Linked DNA regions of Homo sapiens: region 1 is linked to region 2. The links are contacts of gene promoters, found by promoter capture Hi-C in human tissues and cell types (Jung and others, 2019). All regions are on one chromosome and are shown on one strand. The core of a region is centred on a gene start or on the middle of the fragment in contact, and the rest is flanking DNA. Distances in the headings are between cores, read along the strand shown.

Evidence for each region. The method cuts DNA at HindIII sites, captures the fragments that hold promoters and counts their contacts. A contact is called where the count stands out against the background at its distance.
Region 1: a contact is called between a fragment that was not itself captured here and the fragment with the promoter of HCAR1 in region 2, in 9 of the 25 tissues and cell types used here (IMR-90 fibroblasts, bladder, dorsolateral prefrontal cortex and 6 more).

The regions. Positions count from the first base shown.
Region 1 is chr12:122,322,416-122,328,930 of GRCh38, forward strand. It overlaps CLIP1 (CAP-Gly domain containing linker protein 1), which reads right to left. Exons shown (of 26, transcript NM_001247997.2): 16 at 5,846-6,011; 17 at 5,532-5,747. It also overlaps the pseudogene CCDC150P1. Among named protein-coding and RNA genes, the nearest start is that of VPS33A, 59 kb to the left of the region's middle. The HindIII fragment of the contact is 8,257 bases long and covers 1-6,515 here.
Region 2 is chr12:122,729,486-122,735,829 of GRCh38, forward strand. HCAR1 (hydroxycarboxylic acid receptor 1) reads right to left here and starts at 1,359. Exons shown (of 1, transcript NM_032554.4): 1 at 1-1,359. The coding sequence starts at 854. RefSeq lists enhancers at 121-788, 4,633-5,132. The HindIII fragment of the contact is 12,382 bases long and covers 1-5,922 here.

The DNA of each region.
Region 1 (6,515 bases), core at 1,670-4,169, 410 kb before region 2:
CCAGAATCTTGGTGAGGCAGCTGTGCAGTTCCTGCAGCTCTGCCTTGGATTTGGACAAGGCAGCAAAATCACTTTTCAGAGTCTTTATATGGGCAGCAAGTTGAGCTGCTTCTGCAGTCAACAGTTCCTTCTCCTCGATTATCTCTGCCAGTTCTTGCTCTGATTTGCTCTTCTCTTGAAGTAGCACAAACTTCTCGGACTGCAGCTCCTCGATACACACTCTTAACTCCTCCACCTCCTGCTCCAGGAGCACCATCCTCCCGTGAAGTTGATTGTTTTCGTACAAGGATGACTCGCTCTCCTTTGCTCTGGCTTCCTGTTCCAGGATTAAGGACTGCTGCATTTCCTGGATCTCCTTGCTTAATTTGTGACACTCTTCTTGCAGGTTCAAGCCATCTCTCAGCAAAATGTTCTTCTCGGAACAACACGTGTTAAGTTGAGCATCCAAACTCTCCTTTGCTTGCAATATGTGAGTGTGTTCTTTTTCCAGATTCTTTTTGGTATTTTGAGCCTCTTTCAGCATCAAAGAGAGGTCGCACTTGCTGGCCACTAGTTCTTGGTTTTCCTTTTTTCTCTCTTGAAGCTCCTTCTTCAGAGCATCAATATTACCGAGGAGTTTCATATTCTCTTGCACAACTAAACTTCTGTTTGCAGACTCTTGATCACATTGCCTTTTGAGGTCTCCTATGGCTTTGATGGAATTCTCTCTCTCTGCAAGTAAAGCTCCATTTTGCGTTTCCAGTGAGGATTTTTCTTTCAAGAGACTATCCTGCTGCTTTTTAAGTTCAGTCATTTTCTGAGAAGCCATCTCCTTCTCGGAAGTCAGGTAAGTGATCTTCTCATTCAGGCTCATCTCAGTATGGGCAGCCTCTTCTAAGCATTTGTGGAGTTTTTCAGTGATTATTCTATTTTCACTTAAAAGTTCCTCTTTCTCAGCCAAGAGCCTTCTCTCGGAGGCAGCCAAGGTTTCTTTCTCATGCAGAAGCTGGATGCACTCGGAGTCCGTGACCGCCCGCCTGGCCTTAATTTCCTCCAAGAGCTTCGTGAGGCTTGTGTTTGCGGCCTCGAGTTGCACGGTCTCCAGCTCTGCCTTCCTCAGGGCCTTGCTGGCATCATCCAGCTGTGCGCGGAGCCCACTGGCTTCTGAGCGGAGCAGCTGTTTGACCTGGAGAGCGGCCTGGAGGCTGGCATTCAGCTTTTCCTGATCTTGAAGCAGCATGTCCGTCTCTAACTGCAGATTTCTGTTGTTCTGAAGAACATTATCTCGTTCTACCTTTAAGGCTATGCACGTGTTATCGAGATTGGACAATTTCTCTAAAGCTGACTTTTTCTCAGCTGTGAGATCTTCAGTCTCCTGTACCAAAGCTTTCTGATCTTTGACTAGCTCCTCATAAGACCTTTGAAGCTTCTGAATGATGTCATCCTTATCTTTGGCCAAGATGAAGTTTTCGGTAATAAGTTTCTTGATCTGGTCCTCCAGGTGATCTTTTTCTTCCTGGTCCTTCTCAGTCTTAGCAATCAAAGTATCTTTGCTGAGCTGGAGCTCTTCAATGAGTGCCTGCATGCTCACCTTGGAAGCTTGCAAAGAGTCATTTTCCACATTTATCTTCAAGAGTTCTTCCTGTACAACATTGATTTCTTTAAGCAATTTCTCTCTCTCAACAGCCAAAGCTTCTTTATTGAGATGTTCCTGCTCATAATACTTTTCGGCATCTTGCTTTTCTTCTAAGAATTTCTCCTTTTCTAAATTAAGAGTTTCATTCACTGACCACAGTTTCTGCTGGTCTCCCTGAAGTAAAGCTATTTTGGCCTCCAATTCTACAAGCTTGGATAAAAGTGAACCGTTTTCTAACTTTAAATCATTTCCCTCCTGAGAAAGAAGCTGCTTCTCTGATTTCAGACCCCTCAGCTCTTCTGACATTAGTTCAATTTCTTTTTTGGCTGATGTTAACAAATAAGTTAGCGACTACAGAAACAAAAGATGGAAAGAATGGAAACAAAAATGAAATCAAGCAGACAAATGCAAGCCCAAATAACTTAATGTAACCTAAATGATAAAAACTTTACAATTTCTACAATAAACTTTATAGAAACTATCTGAATAACAAGGGAAAGAAACTAAACAGAGCCCATAAAAAGGTAAGTCAAAAGTGTAGTTTTGCAAAGTGCTTCTGTATCTGTTAGCTTATTTTATCTTTGAAACAACTTGTGAAATTATTCCCAGTAGCTACCTAGAAGATAAAAATAGTAGCTTGATTTTAATATCAGGGCATAAGATTCTTTCCTGCCATTCCAATTATCAAATTACTTTGAAAGCAGAAAGGATTCATAGAACAATTTTTAAAAATACAATTAAAAGAAGTACAAAAACTCAGTATATTTTAATGAAAAAAGGAAGGGGCATAACAAGGGAAAATAAACTACTGCCTTCCAAACTCACCACAGGACCTTACTTAAGGGTAGCTGAGGGGCTGAGAGTGATTTAGTCCCAATATCACATATAACTTAAAAACTACAGCCTAATTTCTAGGCTTTGCTGACTAAAAGGAATAGTTTTTTTTTTTTATTTACTGAATTATAAGATAATTTGACCACAGTGTCTATACCAGTGCTATCCAGAACTTTCTGCAATGATATAATTTTTTTTTTTTTTTTTTGAGACTGAGTCTCGCTCTATCTATTGCCCAGGCTGGAGTGCAATGGTGCGATCTTGGCTCACTGCAACCTCCGCCTCTGGGTTCAAGCTATTCTCATGCCTCAGCCTCCCAAGTAGCTGGGATTACAAGGCTCCGCCACCGTGCCCGGCTAATTTTTGTATTTTTAGTAGAGACGGGGTTTCACCATGTTGGCCAGGCTGGTCTCAAACTCCTGACCCCAAGTGATCCACCCACCTAGGCCTCCCGAAGTGCTGGGATTACAGGCATGAGCCACCACGCCCAGCTGATATAAATGTTCTTATTTGCACTCCCATCATGGTGACCATATGACTACTGAGCACCTGAAATGTGGTGAGTGCAACTGAGGAGCTAAATTTTTAATTAAAATGTAACAAATTTAAATTTATTTATTTATTTATTTATTTTGGAGGCAGAGTCTCACTCTGTGGCCCAGGCTGGAGGGAAGTGGCGCGATCTCGGCTCACTGCAACCTCTGCCTCCCAGTTTCAAGCGATCCTCTTTTAAGCATATACAAAAATAGAGAAAATAATGTAGACCGCATATATTCCCATATTAAGGTTTTTATTTTTATTTATTTTTTGAGACAGTCTCACTCTGTCACCCAGGCCAGAGTGCAGTGGCACCATCTCAGCTCACTGCAGCCTCCGCCTCCCAGGCTCAAAGGATTCTCCTGCCTCAGCCTCCTGAGTAGCTGGGACTACAGGTGTGTGCCACCACACCCAATTAATTTTTTGTATTTGTAGTAGAGACGGTCTCACGATGTTGTCCAGGGTGGTCTCAAACTCCTGTGCTCAGGCAATCTGCCCACCTTGGCCTCCCAAAGTGCTAGGATTACAGGCGTGAGCCACCAGAACTGGCTACAAATTTACATTTGAATGGCCTCACATGGCTGGTGGCTACTACATTAGGCAGCACAGCTATAGCCCACTGGCTCTTAAAAGTAGGGAATAGGAGGCTTCATGGGTTCCAGGAACCTTGTTGAGTGCACACGTAAACTTTCCTGAAAAAATATCTGTAGATTTCATTAGATTATTCCAAAGAGTCTGGGACTGATTACGATCCACTGAAATTAGATACTAGACACGTTTGGAGGGGAACAGTCCTGGCATTTTTAACTCAATGACTCTTGCACAAAACCAACCAACAAAATCAGTGAGACTGGCCAGGAATGGTGGCTCATGCCTGCAATCCCAGCACCTTGTGAGACTGGCCAGGAATGGTGGCTCACGCCTGCAACCCCAGCGCCTTGTGAGACTGGCCAGGAATGGTGGCTCACGCCTGCAACCCCAGCGCCTTGTGAGACTGGCCAGGAACGATGAATCACGCCTGCAATCCCAGCACCTTGGGAAGCTGAAGCAGGTGGATCGCTTGCATCCAGGGGTTCGAGACCAGCCTGAGCAACATAGCGAGACTCTGTCTCTACAAAAAATAAAAAATTAGCCAGGTGTAGTGGCACGTGCTTTTAGTCTCAGCTACTTGGGAAGCTGAGGCAAGGGGATCACTTGAGCCCGAGAGGTTGAGGCTGCAGTGAGCCATGACTGTGCCGCTGCACTCAGCCTGGGTGACAGAGTGAGACCTTGTCTCAAAAAAACAAACAACAACCGAGGAGACCTTACATCAGCTTCTGCGATGCTGTGGTTTGCTCAGGCTGAAACATTTTAAAGGAAATACAAAAAAAAAACTGAAGTCTGCACAGATAAAGGAAACCACAAAGACAAAAGATCTGGGAATTGTATCTAGTGTTAAATGGCTCATAAAACTGGAGGTATTTCACAGAAAGAAGAGAAATCCTCAACTATCAGCATGTAGAAGAGGGAGAATATGGGCCTCCCAGATGACATGCACGGCACACACATACCATGTCATGTCCACTTAGTTAGCAAGAGGCTTTTCATGAGATTGGTTTCAAGTCCTATATATGCTCTTTTATCATTTCTTTCTACTAAACTCCTATAAACACATTAAAAATAAAGAAAGGTGAATATTTACTTTCCTTTGAGCAATAGAAGGTTAAACAGTGGGCAAGGTTGAACTTCGTGAAGTTACCAGAGTCACAAAATGTACTGGGCAGGCCAGGCATGGTGGCTCACACCTGTAATCCCAACACTTTAAGAGGCCAAGATGGGAGGACTGCTTGAGCCCAGGAGTTTGAGACCAGCCTGGGCAACACAGCAAGACCCCATTCTCTACAAAAAAAAGAAAAAATATATATTGGGCACAGATACAATCCTAAAACCATAAAATGAAATCCAACATATCAAATTCTGCTCTATCTACTAACAAGGTGTTTCCTCCCTGCCCTTGAATCCAGCTTCCTTGTCAATAAGCTCACAGTACCTTCCTGGGGACACATAAAGCCCTCTGTGGAGTTCTCAATTCTAACTCTTCCTAGAAGAGCTCTGTTCCTCCAACCAGGCTCTCTCTAGTCCTGATTCCTTGCTTGCTTACTTCATGTGACCTCTGCCTCTTGCTTTATCGCAACATCTCTCCAAACCCTAGTGCAAGGCAGCAACAAGCACGGCCAAGATTAGAGGAACAAGCAGGCAAGCAGAGCTCAGGCAACGAAAGAACCTTTGTGACCTCTGGGAAACAAGCAGCACAGGGGTGATGGCTACACAGTCCATTCCAGGAAAGACTGGCAGGAAACACCGTCCGAGAAGGAACAGCAGCTGGCACAAAACACTTGAAGCCATAGGAAATGTAATGTACCACCCTGCCACGCACTCAGAAGGGTAACGTCTGTAGAGGCCACCTTAACTTTTCCCACTGGCTGCTGCTTTCTAAGCACCCTTCCTGCCTCGACACAGAGCTCAGGCAAGCTACAACACAAGGAAATTCTCTCGCGTCACGTACTTTGGCTTTGTCGGCTTGCTTTCTCAGCTCCTCCAGCTCCTGCAGCAAGCCACTGTTCTCCTCCCGTGCGCCCTTCAGCTTGTCCTCTGTGTCCAGCAGCGTCTTCTGGAGGTTCTGTAGGATTTCTTCATGCTTGGTTTTTGTCTCAGAAGTGGCTCTCTCATACCTGGCTTTCAGCTCCTGACACTGGTTGTGGCTTGTTTCCATTTTCTTTTCCTGCAGAGACCCCGAATGAGGGAATGAGTCATCTGCCCATGCGTGTACTATCCCTTGCCTTCCTTGCCAGCCAACAGGCCCACTGAGTATCTCCTTACCAGGTCCGACAATTTCCTCTCCAATTCTTTCTTTTCTTCCTCATGCTTTTTAGCTGCTTCTTGCTGGCTCTGTTCAGCTTTGACAGTCATGTCCTCAATACTTTTTTGCAGAAAACTTGCATTTTCATTAGCCTTTGTAAGTTTTAGCTGTAATTCTTCTACATCTCTAGAAAAAGTTTCAATATAAGGTGTCAGATTTTTCATAAGAATGTTTTAAATTTAAGTTATATTAAAATATACTATTAATAATTGTAATTATTTTCAAAAGTTATGTGTAATTAATAACATCAGAACTAGGCAAGAAATTTTGTTTTGTTTTGTTTTGTTTTGTTTTGTTTTGGGGGGGCGGAGTCTCGCTCTGTCGCACAGGCTGGAGTGCAGTGGCATGATCTCCGCTCACTGCAAGCTCCGCCTCCCGGGTTCATGCCATTCTGCCTCAGCCTCCCCAGTAGCTGGGACTACAGGCACCTGCCAGCACGCCTGGCTACTTTTTTGTATTTTTAGTAGAGACAGGGTTTCACCGTGTTAGCCAGGATGGTCTCGATCTCCTGGCCTCGTGATTCGCCTGCCTCGGCCTCCCAAAGTGTTAGGATTACAGGCGTGAGCCACCATGCCTGGGCACAAGAAATTTTAAAATGCTTTGCCTAAATAATCATTTTACCAGTTATGA
Region 2 (6,344 bases), core at 109-2,608:
AAGGAGGGGCTTGAAAAATAATACACCAGGGGATCCAGCATGCTGTTCATGTAGGTGAAGCTGAGGGTTATGTGCAGGGCCCCATGGACAGAGGGATCGCAGGCACTCGAGGGCACCGTCCAGAGGAAATAGAGTCTAGCAGACACGCTGGGCAGGTAGCATGTGATGAACACAATTGCCACCACCATGATGAACCGGGTCGCCTTCTTCATCCGAGCCTGTCTGGCCAGCTGCTGCCTCCGCCTCAGGCTCCAAACAATCTTGAAGGAGCAAAATAAGATGATGCCGAGGGGCATAAAGAACTCCAGCTGGAACATGATGTCATGCCAGCCATTGGCCGACTCCATGATGAAGCTCTCACAGGAGACGGCCGTCTCTTGCACGCAGAGATGGTTCTCCAGCAAAAGATACACTGTTCCCAGGATGACCAGGGCCCACAGGGTGCAGACGATGCCAGCCGCCACCCGGGTGGAGATAGTGTTCACCGCGTGGTGGGGGTGGACCACTTTGAAATACCTGTCCGCAGCCACCACCGTAAGGAACACGATGCTCCCGGCCCTGTTCATGGCCAACGTGAAGAGCCCCACTCGGCAGGGAATGTCCCCAAAAGCCCAGTGTCTACGTCTGAGGTAATAGTCTGTCCGAAAAGGCAGGCAGATCATAAGGAGGAAATCAGCCACGGCCAAATTGAAAAGGTAAACAGTGCTGGGCTTCCAGGTCTTCATGTGGAAGCAGAAACCACACAGGGCGACCCCATTGCCTAGTGCGCCCAGCACAAAGGCCACAATGAGCAGCGGCGGCATCACCTGGGAGATGGTGTCCCCCTCGATGCGGCAGCACGACCCGTTGTACATGGCGGGGACAGAGCAAGTGTCCGGGTGCAGAGCAGCCCAGGGAGTCCCCACAATGGCACAGATGCTTATCTGAGCGTTAGCACTCACCCAGCTGCTGCGTGTCTGACTTCATCACCCAGGATGCGGGTCCTGTGTGTGTGGGTTGGATGCTGCCACAGCAGCGAGAAGAGAAACTTCAGCCAGGAAATGAGAGACCCAGGGAGGTCCTTTCTCTGGAGCCCGTCTCACAAGCCGCCTGCCTCTGGGAGAGGCCAAGCCTGGAGCCGGATGAAGCTTGGAAATGCATGCAATTTTGCAAAAGTGGTCATTTCTGAGAGGCGGTAGGGTGGGGGGGTCCGATGAGATTGATGCCGTAGAGGAGCGATTGGGTCCAGCGCCAGAGTAATTTTCATTTTCAGCTTCGCTGTTCCTCCTCGGACTCCGTGCTGGAGAGCACACAAAGCTGCCCAGAAGGCAAGAAGAAAGCTTGTTTGTCCTCCCTCCTGGTGGAGAAATCCAAACATTTCCTGGAGTGGTTCTGGGCTCCTGCCTTTGCTTTCCTCCCGTAACCTTTGCCTGACTGCCTTGTCCTCTCCCTCATCCCACGGGGCACTCCCATGCGGTGCCAGAGAGGGGAGGCTTTGCTCTGCAGCTCCTCCGGGCCATTTCCTGTGCCGAAAAATACCGCGCTCAAAAATTGGAGGAGTCTGCGGAGAGAAAAGTTCTAATCACGATACTTGATGGATGTTAGAAAAATTCTTTGACGGGAGTCACCTTTCCCCCGCTCTATTCCCACCTCCCTGCCCTTTACATCCTTCCGTGAACCAAAGTGGCCAGTTGCACAACCACCAAGACCATGAAATAGATCTGAAGCCCACTTCTCATATGTCTGTCTCCACAAAACGGCCTCTTTGGGAGCCGGTTTCCCCCTCTGCTGGGAAGCAGAGCCTAGAACTTTTACAAAGATTTGGCCCTGAGTTTCCATTGGCTGTTGAATGAGCCAAACACCATGAGATGTACGTTTTTAATTTCAATTATGTGCTGAGCCCATCAATTAAAACTGCCCCCTGGGGGCGGAAGAGGATTGGAGGAGTTGATTAAGGAGTCCATCTCTAAAGCAATCATGAGTAACATTAGACTGCACAAAAAATTGGAGTCTTTGCTAAAATTTCCTGTCCTTTGGCTTTAAGGATTATTAATCTGCCCTGTGCCTTTCAGCTTCCAGTTTAGAAAATGGGGTGGAGGCCGGGCGCGGTGGCTCACGCTTGTAATCCAAGCACTTTGGTAGGCCCAGGCGGGCGGATCACCAGGTCAGGAGATGGAGACCATCCTGGCTAACACGGTAAAACCCCGTCTCTACTAAAAATACAAAAAAATGAGCCAGGCGTGGTGGCGGGCGCCTGTAGTCCCAGCTACTCGGGAGGCTGAGGCAGGAGAATGGCGTGAACCCGGGAGGCAGAGCTTGCAGGGAGCCAAGATTGCGCCACTGCACTCCAGTCTGGGTGACAGAACCAGACTCCGTCTAAAACAAACAAACAAACAAACAAACAAAACAACAAGAAAAAGAAAAAGAAAAAAGAAAGAAAGAAGAAAATGGGGTGGAGGCCAGTCGCGGTGGCTCACATCTATAATCCCAGCACTTTGGGAGGCCGAGGCAGGTGGATGACTTGAGGTCAGGAGTACAAGACCAGCCTTGCCAACATGGTGAAACCCCATCTCTACTAAAAATATACAAAAATCAGTCAGGTGTTGTGGCATGTGTCTGTAATCCCAGTTACTCAGGAGGCTGAGGCAGGAGAATCACTTGAACCCGGGAGGTGGAGGTTGCAGTGAGCCGAGATCGTGCCAATGAACTCCAGCCTGGGTGACAGAAAGAAACTCTGTCTCAAAAAAAAAAAATGGGGCGGAAAAGAGGGGGTGCATTGAAAGAATGTGTCTGTCTTCTAGATGCACACTGAAGCTAAATTCTTCCCACTGGATGCTGGACTCCAAATCTGTCCACCCACATTCTCCCCTGCCTCGCCCTAGCACAGACCGCAGTCACTTCCCACCTGAACTGTTGAAACAGTTTCCTAACTGGTTTCCCTTCCTCTCATCTATTTCCTGTAAGTCATCTTCTACACAATAATCTGATTTTTCTGAAGCACAGATATTATCATATACCTTTTTTCACTTAAAAATCTTCACTAGCTCCCTTCAATCTGCCAAGGGGCTAGAATGATGGCCTGTGGACCATATCTGGTTTAAAAACCAGCCTGGCTTGGCCGATATGTTTTTAAAACCTGGTGCAGTCCTATAAAAACCTGGATTTCTGTTGTCTCTTAGAACACTGGAAGATCTGGCCACACTGGACCGACACTCCCACATGGAAACAATCAGCTGGAGCTTAGAGTAGATGGAGTAGAGACAGAGAATGAGCCCCTGTAGACAGAGAATGAGCTTTACTGTTTGCCACAGTCCCCACCACTCCCTATTGCCTTACACCTGGTTGGCTTTCCTCATTGGCAAGCCTAGTCTCTGTGGGATTTTGAGTTTGTCACCTCTTGCTCTAGGTTGAAGGTCACATTCCTTGGATTGACGTACAAGGTCCTTCACAGTTGGTTCCCAACCTACCTTTCCAGTATGATTTTCCTGCCACTTTCCTCCTTCCACCCTACTCGCTAGTCTCATAACCTCTAATAAATAAAAACGTGTTCGTCAAACGTCTATATCTAGTTCCCCCACAAATTCAGGAGTTCTTTGAAGACAAACTTCATACTCTTGGCCTGGATGACTAACTCCTACTTTTCTCCTTCTTTCTTTCCTTCCGTCTTTCTTTCTTTCTTTCTTTCTTTTCTTTCTTTCTCTCTCTCTCTTTCTCTCTGTCTCTCTCTCTCTCCCTCTCTGCCTCCCTCCCTCTCTCTCTTTCTTTTTTTTTTGAGACAGAGTCTGGCTCTGTTGTCCAGGCTGGAGTGCAGTGGCTCTGTCTTGGCTCACTGTAGCCTCAACCTCCCAGGCTCAAGCCATCCTCTTACCTTAGCTTCCTGAGTGGCTGGGACTACAGGTGCATGCTACCATGCCCAGCTAATTTTTGTATTTTTTGTAGAGACGGGGTTTTGCCATGTTGTCCAGGTCTCAAACTCCGGGGCTCAAGTGATCCACCCACCTTGACCTCTCAAATGTGCTGACATTACAGGTGTAAGCCACCATGCCAAGCCTAACTCCTACTTTTCATGAGAGCTCATTGTAACCACTTTCACTCTGTGGGCCTTTGTGATTCTGTGATAAGGTGTTAACTAACAGGGGTAACCATGGTAGGTTGAAACACCCCAAGATGAGGTCAGAGGGGTAACCCTGAGTACTTCACATGCTTAGCCTGGATTTTTTAACAAATGGAAAATATTCTTCATTCTACATTCTCAGATACTGTCGGGATTCTTGTAAACACAAATACTTCCTTTTTTTTCCACATGACTAACACCTGCCTTTCTTTTCTAAATCCTTTGTCTTGTCAAATCACCTTCTTCTCTCTCTTTTTTTTTTTTCTTTTTGTGGCTGTAGAATTAGCTGTAAGGCAGAGGATTAAGGAAGAAAAAAATGGCATCTATTCCTCTGAAAGTCTACTGGTTTTTTTGGTTTGTATGTTTTGAGACAGAGTCTGGCTCTGTCGCTAAGGCTGGAGTGCAGTGGCACAAATGTAGCTCCTTTCAGCCTGTGCTTCCCAGGCTCAAGTGATCCTCCCACCTCAGCCTCACAAGTTGCTGGGACCACAGGCACGTGCCACCATGCCTGGCTAATTTTTGTATATTTTGTAGAGACAAGGTCTCACCATACTGGTCAGGCTGGTCCTGAACTCCTGGGTTCAAGCGATCTGCCTGCCTCAGCCTCTCAAAGTGCTGGGATTACAGGCGTGAGCCACCGCACCCACCCCAAAAGCCTACTGGTTTTTCACGTACAATCTGATCTTATTCTACCCCAGGGCTTCAAGAAGATGCTGTCTCTCTCTTCTTGGACTTCCTGCTCAAGATCATGCTGTGGTGCCCTATTCCTTTGTGCACCAAATTTAGATCTATCTAGGCTCATGCCTGTAATCCCAGTACTTTGGGAGGCAGATCACTTGCGATCAGGAGTTCGAGACCAGCCTGCCCAACATGGTGAAACCCCAACTCTACTAAAACTACAAAAATTAGCCGGTCGTGGCCGGGAGTGGTGGCTCACTCCTATAATCCCAGCACTTTGGGAGGCGGAGGTGGGTGGATCACCTGAGGTCAGGAGTTCGAGACCAGCCTGGCCAACATGGTGAAAACCCTGTCTCTACTAAAAATACCAAAACTAGCCGGGTGTGGTGGCAGGTGCCTGTAATCCCAGCTACTTGGGGGGCTGAGGCAGGAGAATCGCTTGAACCTGGGAGGCGGAGGTTGCAGTGGGCCGAGATAGCGCCATTGCACTCCAGCCTAGGGGACAAGAGTGAGACTTTGTCTCAAAAAAAAAAAAAATTAGCCAGTCATGGTGGTGCATGCCTGTAGTCCCAGCTATTCCAGAGGCCGAGTCACAAGAATCGCTTGAACCCAGGAGGTGGAGGTTGCAGTGAGCCAAGATTGCACCACTGCACTCCAGCCTGGGCCACAGAGTGAGAATCTGTCTCAGAAAAAAAAAAAAAAAAAAAACAAAACTGGCCAGGCAGTGGCTCACACCTGTAATCCCAGCACTATGGGAGGCCGAGGAGGGCAGATCACCTGGAATCAGGAGTTCAAGACCAGTCTGGCCAACATGGTAAAACTCCATCTCTATTAAAAATATAAAAATTAGCCAGTGTGGTGGCAAGCACCTGTAGTCCCAGCTACTCGCGAGAGTGAGGCAGGAGAATTGCTAGAAGCTTGGAGGCGGAGGTTGCAGTGAGCCGAGATCGCACCATTGCACTCCAGTCTGGAGGACAAGAGCAAGACTCCATCTAAAAAAATAAATAGGCTGGGCGCGGTGGCTCATGCCTGTAATCCCAGCACTTTGAGAGGTGAGGTGGGTGGATCACAAGGTCAGGAGTTCAAGACCAGCCTGACCAACACGGTGACACCCCATCTCTCCTAAAAATATGAAAATTAGCCAGGTGTGGTGGCGAGCACCTGTAATCCCAGCTACCTGGGAGGCTGAGGCAGGAGAATTGCTTGAACTGGGGAGGCAGAAGTTGCAGTGAGCTGAGATTGCAGCCACAGCACTCCAGCCTCGGTGACAGAATGAGACTCCGTCTCAAAAATAAATAAATAAATCTAAAAATTAATTCAAAATATATCCAAGATCTAGATGTAAAAGCTAAAACTATAAAACTCTTAGAAAACATAGGGGAAAAGCTTAATGACATTGACTAAGGCAATGATTTTTGGATATGATGCCAAAAACACAAGGAACAAAAGAAAAAATAGATAAATTGGACTCCACCAAAAGTAAAACCTTTGTGCCTCAAAGGACACTCACTATCAACAGACAAGGTGAGGTCAGGTGCAGTGGCTCACGCCTGTCATCCCAGCACTTTGGGAG